4 separate regions of the Homo sapiens genome follow, and regions 2, 3 and 4 are each linked to region 1. The links are contacts of gene promoters, found by promoter capture Hi-C in human tissues and cell types (Jung and others, 2019). All regions are on one chromosome and are shown on one strand. Each heading gives the region's core, a stretch centred on a gene start or on the middle of the fragment in contact. The rest is flanking DNA. Distances are from core to core; before and after follow the strand shown.

The links. The method cuts DNA at HindIII sites, captures the fragments that hold promoters and counts their contacts. A contact is called where the count stands out against the background at its distance.
Region 2: the fragment with the promoter of ERCC2 here is called in contact with the fragment with the promoter of GPR4 in region 1 in 2 of the 25 tissues and cell types used here (adrenal gland and spleen).
Region 3: a contact is called between the fragment with the promoter of RSPH6A here and the fragment with the promoter of GPR4 in region 1, in 1 of the 25 tissues and cell types used here (dorsolateral prefrontal cortex).
Region 4: a contact is called between the fragment with the promoter of FOSB here and the fragment with the promoter of GPR4 in region 1, in 2 of the 25 tissues and cell types used here (dorsolateral prefrontal cortex and lymphoblastoid cells).

What each region holds. Positions count from the first base shown.
Region 1 is chr19:45,600,908-45,603,557 of GRCh38, reverse strand. It overlaps GPR4 (G protein-coupled receptor 4), which reads left to right and starts at 1,346. Exons shown (of 2, transcript NM_005282.3): 1 at 1,346-1,463. The HindIII fragment of the contact is 53,447 bases long and covers 1-2,650 here.
Region 2 is chr19:45,369,323-45,371,972 of GRCh38, reverse strand. ERCC2 (ERCC excision repair 2, TFIIH core complex helicase subunit) reads left to right here and starts at 1,400. Exons shown (of 23, transcript NM_000400.4): 1 at 1,400-1,437; 2 at 1,741-1,840. The coding sequence starts at 1,433. RefSeq lists enhancers at 1,107-1,186, 1,805-2,646. The HindIII fragment of the contact is 25,658 bases long and covers 1-2,650 here.
Region 3 is chr19:45,813,967-45,816,616 of GRCh38, reverse strand. RSPH6A (radial spoke head 6 homolog A) reads left to right here and starts at 1,309. Exons shown (of 6, transcript NM_030785.4): 1 at 1,309-2,090. The coding sequence starts at 1,441. It overlaps SYMPK (symplekin scaffold protein), which reads left to right. Exons shown (of 27, transcript NM_004819.3): 25 at 40-135; 26 at 434-766; 27 at 920-1,207. The coding sequence ends at 1,057. The HindIII fragment of the contact is 35,300 bases long and covers 1-2,650 here.
Region 4 is chr19:45,466,635-45,469,284 of GRCh38, reverse strand. FOSB (FosB proto-oncogene, AP-1 transcription factor subunit) reads right to left here and starts at 1,289. Exons shown (of 4, transcript NM_006732.3): 1 at 573-1,289. The coding sequence starts at 698. RefSeq lists an enhancer at 287-1,188 and a silencer at 1,373-1,652. The HindIII fragment of the contact is 8,650 bases long and covers 1-2,650 here.

The sequences.
Region 1 (2,650 bases), core at 97-2,596:
CCTAGTAGGAAGGCAGACAACTAGAAAAAAATAAGAGAATGTTGCCTTCCCCAAAGGGTAGGGGAAAAGTGAGGCAGAGAAAGATGGGGAGTGTTGGGGTCTGGTTGGCATATTTTACAGACTTGATAGCATTGACACCATTAAATGAGACCGCCAGGAGAAAAGGACCATGATGGCCGGCCTCGGTGGCTCAGGCTTATAATCCCAGCACTTTGGGAGGCCAAAGCAGAAGGATGGCTTGAGCCCAGGAGTTTGAGACCAGCCTAGACAACATAGTGAGACCCCTGTCTATAGAAAAAAAAAATTTTTTAAATTGGCCAGGTGTGGTGGCACACGCCTGTAGTCCCAGCAACTCAGGAGGCTGAGGTGGGAGGATCACTTGAGCCTGGAAGGTTGAGGCCGCAGGGAGCCATGATCGTGCCACTGAACTCCAGACTGGGCAAGAGAGTGAAAACCTGTCTCAAAAAAAGAAAAAAGGTGGGGCACGGTGGCTCACGCCTGTAATCCCAACACTTTTTGGAGGCCGAGGTGGGCAGATAGCTGGAGCTTAGGAGTTCGAGACCAGCCTGGCCAACTTGGTGAAACCCCGTCTCTATTAAAAATACAAAAATTAGCCGGGCGTGGTGGTGTGTGCCTGTAATCCCAGCTACTCGGGAGGCTGAGGCAGGAGAATCGCTTGAACCTGGAAGGCAGAGATTGCAGTGAGCCAAGATTGTGCCACTGCACTCCAGTCTGGGCAACAGAGCATGACTCTGTCTCGAAAGAAAAGAAAGAAAAAAGCAAAGCAAAGCAAAGCAAAGAAAAGAAGGAAGCAAGCAGGCACCATGAGTGACCACCTTGATTCAAAGAGGAAACTGAGGCACGGAGATGTCACTAGCCTAAGGTCTGACCAAGAGTCAGGCTGGAAATGCAACCCCAGAGCTCCTTCTAGGGGTGGCCCTGACTTTGGAGTTGGGGACCTAACAGAACCCTTTATTCTCTCCGTTGTTGGGGAGGAAGATGCAGAAGGTTAATGACCAGAGGATGAATGACTGAAGCCTGGGGTCTCTAAGGGAGGAAATGGCTTAACCCAGGGAAGGTCAGTAGCGGGGGCCTCCTCTTCCCATAGCCGAGGACCTGATAAATTTGGGGGTGTGTGGTTGGAGAGAGGGGACCTTCCAGCTGGGGACTTGGAAGGATTCGGGGGTGTTCCAGTAGCAGATGAGCCTCACCCGTGGCTGGAGGCGTTTAATGGGGTGAAGCCTGAAAGGGGTTAAGGGGCAGCGGCAAAGGTGGGGTTAATGGGGGCGGGCCTGGCCGGGGCGGGGCCTCGGCTGGCGGCTCTGGCCCGGGGGCCGGGAGGAGTAGCCGCTGTTCTGCCCCGCGGGGGCATCCGCTGGGTCCCCGCGCCGTTGTCAAGACCGGGGACCTGGACGCAGCGGAGAGAGGTGCCGCCGCCCGCCCCGTCCAGTCGCCGCGCGCAGGTAAGTGCCGGGTCCTCCCCGGCTGCCCGCGATGCTGCGGGGTCTCACTAGGTTGCCCTGCTCGTGGCGAGACCGCTCCTCCCCGCCCCCTCGGGGGCTGCCTCAGTCTCCCGCGCCGTCTCGGTGCCCGCCCCCTCTGTTGCTCTCCCTGGCTTTGCGTCTGTCTCCAACTCCCGCCTGATGTCTCTGTGTCTGTGGTCCCTCTGCCTCTGGACGTGTCTTTCCTTCTGTGTCTCTGGATGTCTCTGTCTTTTTCTTGATCTCTGCCTCTCTGTCTCCGTCTGTCTGTCTCTGTCTCTCTGTTTCTGGGTCCCACCTCCCTCTGCCCCTGCCTCTGCCTCACCCCCGTCTGTTGTGGGACCTCTGCGGATGTCTCTGACTCTATCTCCATCTCTCCCTGTCTCTGTGTATCTCTTTGCTCTCTCCCTTCCTGTCTCTTCATCTCTATTGCCCTGTCTCTTTCTCTCCGTCTCTTATAACACTGTTTTGGCACCTTCAGCTCTGTCTTCTCTCCTTCCAAATCCTCCGCATCCCGGAACTTTCCTCTGGGCTGGGAACCTGCTTGGGAGTGGGGTAGGGGGCAGGAGGCTTGTGACCTGGGGCAGGCGGACTCTAAGTGACACCATGATCCCAGCGCCCCCTTCACGGAGCCACCCCACTGCCCCTCAGGTCGCACCCAGCCCGCCCGCCAATTTCAGGAATTCCTGCCTGGGGGGTGGACTTCCTCCCCTACTTCCTCTCTTCCAGGATTTGGCTGGGTCACCATTAACTCTTTCCTGCTTCCGCCTCACTCTCCCCCCTGGAACTGGACAACCCCTCCTCCCAAACTAGGCTGAGGAATAGCTCTAGGATATCTGTGAGGCATCGGTTGTGGGATGTGTGTGTGTGCGTACTCAGGCTGGATATGCATTGGGGAATTTGTTTGGCGCAGAAGTGGAGAGGATGGGGCCACACCCCCCAGTTCCCCCTCCAGAGCCCACCATCAGCCCCCCTCCTCCTGAGCCCACCAAGGGGGTATCCGCCCCCACCTCTGTCTTTGTAGATGAACTTGACTTCAGGTTTGGGGTGAGGATGAGGAGGTTTTCTTTTCTGGGGGAATCCCAGCTGAAGAGGATGAAAGACCCATAGGGGCTCCTGGAACCCTGGGAATCCTATGATCAAGTACCTTGAATGTGAACATCTTTGAA
Region 2 (2,650 bases), core at 151-2,650, 230 kb after region 1:
CCCAGCTAATTTTTGCATTTTTTGTAGAGACGGGTTTTCACCATGTTGCCCAGGCTGGTCTCTAGCTCCTGAGCTCAAGCAATGTACTCGCCTTGGCCTTCCAAAGTGTTGGAACCACAGGCACGAGCCACCACTCCAGGCTGTAATCATATATTCATTTGTATATTTAATATCTGTTCTTTGAGGCCAGGCCTGGTGCCTCACCCCTGTAATCCCAACAATTTGAAAGGCTGAGGGGAGAGGATCACTTGAACCTGCGAGTTTAACCAGCCTGGGCAACGTGGTGAGACCTCGTCTCTAAAAAAATTTAAAAAATAAAACTTAGCTGGGCTTGGTGGTGCACACCTGTGGTCCCAGCTACTCTGGAAGCTGAGGTGGGAGGATCGCTTGAGCCCAAGAGGTGGAGGCTGCAGTGAGCTGTGACTGTGCCACTGCACTCCAGCCTTGGCGACAGAGAAAGACCCTGTCTCAAGGAAAAAAATCTGTTCTTTGAGGGCAGGTGCTGAGGCTGTCATGGTCACCTTTCTGTTCCCAGGGGCCAGCACAGGATCAGACACATGGTAGATGCCACATAGCTATTTGTTGAAGAAACAAACAAAAGCTAGCATTTATGTTTTATTTATTAGTTATTATTATTAATATTTGAAATGGAGTTTCGCTTTTGTTGCCCAGGCTAGAGTGCGACGGCGCCATCTCTGCTCACTGCAACCTCTGCCTCCCAGGTTCAAGCAATTCTCCTGCTTCAGCCTCCCGAGTAGCTGGGATTACAAGCATTTGCCAGCACGCCCGGCTAATTTTGTATCTTTAGTAGAGACAGGTTTTCTCCATGTTGGTCAGGCTGGTCTTGAACTCCCGACCTCAGGTGATCCACCTGCCTCAGCCTCCCAAAGTGCTGGGATTACAGGCTTGAGCCACCGCGCCCGGCCTGCAAAGCCATTTCTAACTCTTGGGCCCAGAAAGGATCACCAATTTCCCTGTCATTCTCCGTTAGACTATTCGCTACTGAGACGATTTTTTTTTTTTTTTGAGACGAGGTGGAGGGGCGGGGGTTCTCGCTATCTTGCTCAAGCTGATCTCGAACTCCTGGGTTCGATCAATACTCAGACAATCTTGGCAGGCGCAGGAGGACCAAATTCTAGTGAATGAGATCGAGTCTCTCGGCTCTTTCCCTTCCATGTTTTCTTTTTGATTGGCCCTCGACGATCCTCAGTGACGCCTCCCGCACCGCCTCACCCGAGAGTCAGCCGCCCTCGCTTTTCCGTGCGCACGCGCAGTATCCCGATTGGCTCTGCCCTAGCGGATTGACGGGCAGGTTAGCCAATGGTCTCGTAATATAGGTGGAGCGAGCCCTCGAGGATGTCCACGACCCGGCCTCTCGCTGAATATTCATGAGGGAGGCGGGTCGACCCCGCTGCACAGTCCGGCCGGCGCCATGAAGTGAGAAGGGGGCTGGGGGTCGCGCTCGCTAGCGGGCGCGGGGGGTCTTGAAGATGGGGTCATCGGTGGGCGCGCCTGGGTCCCCAAGGGGGCGAGGGGAGGGTGAAGGGGTGGGACGGGGGCAGCCGCAGGGAGCAGCAGTGATAGCGAGGAGACACTGAGGGGGCCCCGAGGCTCCTGAGGACCTGAGGGTTACCGGGGGCGCCGGGCCCGTCACCCTTCTCTGGGCTCGACGACCGGGCACTGTGGAGGCGGGAGAGGGGCTGAGGGGACGGGAACTGACCCAGCAGCCCCTGCCGCCAGGCTCAACGTGGACGGGCTCCTGGTCTACTTCCCGTACGACTACATCTACCCCGAGCAGTTCTCCTACATGCGGGAGCTCAAACGCACGCTGGACGCCAAGGTGGGTGGCCGGTGGGCCCGACCCGCCCACTCGACCGGTGGGGCTGCCACGCCTGGGCCTAAGACAGATTGCAGGACGTCTGGATTTTAGAAGTCCGAGGTCCCTGGGAATCCAGGACCCCATAATCTTCCGTTATCTAAAACAATAATGGTGAATAGGCTGGGCGCGGTGGCTCGCGCCTGTAATCCCAGAGCTTTGGGAGGACGAGGCGGGCGGATCACTTGAGGTCAGGAGTTGGAGACCAGCCTGGCCAACACGGTGAAACCCCGTCTGTACTAAAAATACAAAAATTAGCCAGGTGTGGTGGCGGGCGCCTGTAATCCCACCTACTCGGGAGGCTGAGGCAGGAGGATCGCTTGAGGCCAGGAGTTGGAGGCTGCAGTGAGCCATGATTGTGCCACTGCATTCCAGCCTGGGCAATAGTGACACTTGTCTCTTAAAAAAGAAGGGAGAAAAGTTCACTATATATCAGCTACTGTGCCAAATATTTAACCTGCAATTTCTCACAATCCTCATAGTCATGTTATGAGGAAGGTTTTATTATTAGGCCCATTTTATTTTATTTATTTATTTTTGAGATTGAATTACAGGTGCGCGCCACCACATCTGGCTAATTTTTTGTATTTTTAGTAGAGACGGGGTTTCACCTTGTTGGCCCAGCTGGTCTTGAACTTCTGACCTCAGGTGGTTCACCTGCCTCAGCCTCCCAAAGTGCTGGGATTACAGGTGTGAGCCACCACGCCTGGCTTTAGGCTCATTTTAGAGATAGGGATACTGAGGTCTGGGGAGGTGAAGGTACTTGCCTAAGAC
Region 3 (2,650 bases), core at 60-2,559, 210 kb before region 1:
AGAGCTGCCCCCAGCGCCCCCTTCCTGCTCTCCACCCAGCAAGCTCACATCCCTAACTCCATCATGACCATCTTGGAGGCCAGCGGCAAGCAGGAGCCAGAGGCCAAGGAGGCGCCTGCGGGGCCCTTGGAGGAGGTGAGGGCCCTGCAGCCCACCCATCTGGATCCCCAGACTCCCACCCCCTACCCCAAGCCAGCAAGGCTCACCATGGCCTCCTCCTGACCCCGAGAGACTCAGGCCACCCCTGCCTCTGGGCCACCCGTCTCCCAGGGGATGCTCCTGCTGGGAGTTGGGGGTCTGGGGGACAACTGCCCCTTCCTCCCCATGCTCTTGGTGAAGAACTCAAAGACCACCTCAGGGTGGTTCCTTCTCTTTCCGGCCGTCCTCTGAGCCACCCACCTCTGAGCTTCTGTGTGGCCCTCCCTATCCCCAGGATGATCTGGAGCCCCTGACCTTGGCCCCGGCCCCAGCACCCCGGCCCCCTCAGGACCTCATCGGCCTGCGACTGGCCCAGGAGAAGGCCTTAAAGCGGCAGCTGGAGGAGGAACAGAAGCTGAAGCCGGGAGGAGTGGGAGCCCCCTCCTCTTCCTCCCCCTCTCCCTCTCCGTCGGCCCGGCCAGGCCCGCCCCCGTCTGAGGAAGCCATGGATTTCCGGGAGGAGGGGCCTGAGTGCGAGACCCCGGGCATCTTCATCAGCATGGATGACGACTCGGGGCTGACCGAGGCCGCGCTGTTGGACTCTAGTCTCGAGGGCCCCCTACCCAAGGTAGGGAGAGCAGCCTCCGCTGCGAAGGAAGAAGCCGGATCTGGGCCGGGGTGAAGGTGGGGGAGGAGGGGCCATCAGGGGGCAGGGCCTGAAGGGGAGCGTGGAGGTGACCGCGCCCTCCACCCGGCTGCCCTTTCCTTCCCCGGTCACCAGGAGACGGCAGCGGGCGGGCTGACCTTGAAGGAGGAGCGGAGCCCCCAGACCCTCGCACCTGTTGGAGAAGATGCTATGAAGACTCCCAGCCCGGCTGCCGAGGACGCCAGGGAACCCGAGGCCAAGGGGAACAGCTGACGGGGCTCGAGGGGGAAAGGGGGTGGGACAGGGACTCGGGGCTGGGGGACGGGGCGGGGCTTGACCTGCGGGTGCTTTGCCTTAAAAAGAAATAAAAGATGTGAACTTGGGCAAGTTACTGAAAAGAAAAAAAAAAAGGGATGGCGGGCCTGGGGCGCGGGTGCCGTCTCGAGTCTGGCGCGACGTCCACCGTGGGGCTGCGCGGGATCGGGAGTGCGCGCCCAGAGCCTGCGCGGAACCCACCCTGGCCCGCTCCCCGCGCCCTCCACGGGTAACGGCCCCCTCTCTCGGTGCTCAGAAACCGGCGGTGTCGACAGGTGGCTCTCGCTTGGCCTCCTTGTCTGCAAGCCTTTCTCCTAGAGATCTGTGCCTCCTGGCGAACCATGGGAGACCTGCCGCCCTACCCTGAGCGCCCTGCCCAGCAGCCTCCGGGCCGGAGGACTTCTCAGGCCTCCCAGAGGCGGCACAGTCGGGACCAAGCTCAGGCCCTGGCAGCGGACCCCGAGGAGAGGCAGCAGATACCTCCAGACGCCCAGCGAAACGCCCCTGGTTGGTCACAGAGGGGCAGCCTGTCCCAACAGGAGAACTTGCTGATGCCCCAGGTCTTCCAGGCTGAGGAAGCCCGGCTGGGTGGCATGGAGTACCCATCTGTGAACACGGGCTTTCCCTCAGAGTTCCAGCCTCAGCCTTACTCTGATGAAAGCAGGATGCAGGTCGCCGAGCTCACCACCAGCCTAATGCTGCAGCGGCTCCAGCAGGGCCAAAGCAGCCTGTTCCAGCAACTGGACCCCACCTTCCAGGAGCCCCCAGTCAACCCCTTGGGCCAGTTCAACCTCTACCAGACAGACCAGTTCTCTGAAGGTGCCCAGCACGGGCCTTACATAAGGGATGACCCTGCCCTTCAGTTCTTGCCCTCTGAGCTGGGCTTCCCACACTACAGTGCCCAGGTGCCTGAGCCCGAGCCTCTGGAGCTGGCCGTGCAGAACGCCAAGGCCTACCTGCTGCAGACCAGCATCAATTGCGACCTCAGCCTGTGAGCAGGGGCTAGGAGTGGGGCGGGTGGGGGACCCAGGCAGGGAGGGGCCCCACCCGAAGTGCCTGCCTCAGTCAGTCAGACAAGGGATCATCCCTCATGGAAAACCAGTGACTCTAATTCAGCTGAGTCGGAATCAATGCCAACAACAGCTAGCATTCACTTCCCAGACATGTGCTGGCACTGCACACACTCACCTAATTCTCACCGGAGATGAGCACATCAGCTCATCCTACTTTACAGAGGAGGAGACCGAGACACAGAGAAGTTGGGTCGCTTACCCAAAACTACACAGCTAGGATATGGCAGAGTCAGGATTCCAGAACACGTGATTTGGCTCCCCAAGCCCTCTTGCTTTTTTTTTCCCCCAGACATAGTCTCACCCTGTCACCCAGGCTGGAGCACAGTGGCGTGGTCTTGGCTTAGGGCAACCTCTCCTTCCCAAGTTCAAGTGATTCTTCTGCTTCAGCCTCCCGAGTAGTTGGGGTTACAGGCGCGCTCCACTTCACCCAGCTAATTTTTGTATTTTTAGTAGAGGCAAGATTTCACCATGTTGCCCA
Region 4 (2,650 bases), core at 40-2,539, 130 kb after region 1:
GTGCGTGCCCCGCGTCAGACGGAGGATTCCAGCGCGTCAGCCGTTACGCACGGGTCCCCCGTTACGTCTCCGCGCAGGAGGCGGAGGCAGCGCGGCTGAGGGTTCGAGGCCCCTCTTCCCGATGGGTGGAGGGCGACCCGGCACCGAAGTGGGCGCTCCGAAGGAGGAGGAAAGGAAAAGAGACTGCTGGAAGCTTCCCCGGGATTTCCCCCACCTGCCTAACTGCGCTAGCTTCAGGTCTGGGACCCGAGCAGGGGGCAGTCCCGGGGCCGGCTCAAAGTTCTCAGCCCCGCTACCGCATACACGTTGCATTGAGCAGCGCATTACCCACCCCACCCCCACCTCGCCCCAAAGCCTACCCTCCCTGCCGCGTTCCCTCCTTGCGCTCCACGCACGCAACCAATTGCAAACATCTCCCGACTCTTTGCAGTTTGCAAAGTGCGCTGTGAGCCTTTTCCATCTCAGATCTAGGGTTCTGATGCGCCTTTTTGTGGGGGTTGGGGTTTATTCTTTTCACCCTTGACTTAAAAAATAAAACCTACAAAGCAGCACCCCTACTATCAAAAACTTACCTGGGAGGCGGCGGCGGTGGGTGGACTGCCGAAGGAGTCCACCGAAGACAGATATTGAGACTCGGCAGAGGGTGAGGAGCTGCACCGGGAGCCGGAGTCGTAGTCTCCGGGGAAAGCCTGAAACATTTCCCTGGGCACAGGGGGGCCCCTGTGACCACGCTGAGGTCGCCGGGAAGCCAAGGCTATGGCCGGGTTGGGGAAGTAAGGTGCAAGTCCGGGGTGAGCCGTGGGAGTCCCCGGTGAGCTGAGCGAGTCCTCAAAGTACGCTGTCCGGGGAAGCTCGGGGAAGGAGCAACGTCCCGTTCCAACAATGGCAAAGTTTCTGTGCAGTCTTCCTGCGGTGCCCAGGCCCCCACAGGATGCCGCTGTACCTCTTGAAAGTGCAGGCTCCGTAGGACCCAGGGGCGAGGGAGGGGTTGCTCCCCCAGGGGCAGAAAGCGCTGTCCCGCTGTACAGAATCAGCTTCAGCTACGGTCTCCTCCACGCGTCCGGCGGGTCCCACGGGGGGAGGGGAGTAATAAAGAAGACCAAAAAAAGTAAGTCGGTCCTCCAAAAGAAAATGAAGAAATATCTGGAAGAATCTTTCCAAAAACTTTCTCCCCGGAAAAAAAAAGATTAATGAAATTTCATAACCCCCAAGAAGAACCACAACAATCAAGTTTCCAAGTCTTGGTTCCGCGTGTCCCTGCCGTGGCCGTAGCTCTGAGTCTTATGAATGAAGCACAGACCCGCCAGCCTGTATTTATATGCCCGGGACCCGCCCCCCTGCTTACGTCACCCGCCCCTTGCTGGACAAACTTCCCCAAATCTCCGGCCCCGCCAAATCGAGTCCCGCACTGTCCAGCAAGAGGTCTGTTCTAGACTCGATCTGGTCACTTGCATGACCCTCGGGGCCCTGGGGGTCTCGGGGGTTGCGTTCCGGGCCACTCGGCGGGAGGGGATCCCGGCCCCGCCTTCCCGGAGTTCCTGTGACGCAATTAGCCATATAAGGAGCTCGGCCGGCGCGGCGGAGTGTTTGTTTGGTATCCTAGCAATGACGTCAGAGGGAATCCCTCGCTCGCTCGCGCGCGCGCCCGCGCCCCGCCCGCGCCTGCGCAGTGCAACGCCGCCCCGGGGGCTGGTAATAATAGGCGCTTAGACTAGCCCCGCAGGGACCCCGCTGACCCGGGCGGGGAAGACCCCAGCCTGCAGGTCCCCTTCACCTCTGGCGCCCCCACCTACCCTGTTCTACCGATGGTGCAGCGCCCCCATTCGAGAAGAAGAGCAGATCTCCAAAAGGAGACCCTGATTAGTGTGGTGTGGTCACGTAGGTGGGGAAACTGAGTCCCGAGCGGGCTGTGATGCTCAGGTGAAAGTGGAGGTAATGGAGGGATTCCGAGGCTCGTCCTGGTTTCTGTCCTGATTCGCTGTGCGAGCTTAGGAAATGTTTTCCCTCTCTGAGCTTTAGCTTTAATCTTCCCCGCTGGGCAAAGGATGTGTGTCTTGGACCCTGCTGGCCTTACAGGTCCGGCGTTTGGGAGGGATGCGGATTTGGAGGAGATGGGAAATGAAACTTAGAGAGAAGCCTCTCTTCTGATGGTGTTGGTAGCCTCTCCTTCCACCTTTTAATCCACCCGGAGACAAAGAATGTGTAAGAGGGAGGGGATATTATTATTAATTCTAATAATAATAATTAATGCCTTGTATTTGGCACTTGCCAAGCACAGCTCCTGTGCTACGCCTTTCAGTAGAAGATTTGTAATCCTTAAAACAGCTCTGGAAGGTTAAGAGAGAAAAATCTTCATTTTATAAAAGAAAAAAATGATACTCAGGGAGGTTAAATGACTTGCCCAAGATCCCATCACAAGAAATTCAAACTCAGAATTGTCAAACTCCAGATTTCCTACCCTTTCCATTTCTTTTCTGATTTCTGAGACCTGCCTGGTTGGATGAAACTCCCTGAAAAACCTGTGTCTGGGGTTTTTTTAAATGATAATGGCAATATTAGTAGCTTTCACTTGTCAGGTCTTTTTTTTTTTTTTTTTTTTTTTTTTTTTGAGACGGAGTCTTGCTCTGCCGCCAGGCTGGAGTGCAGTGGC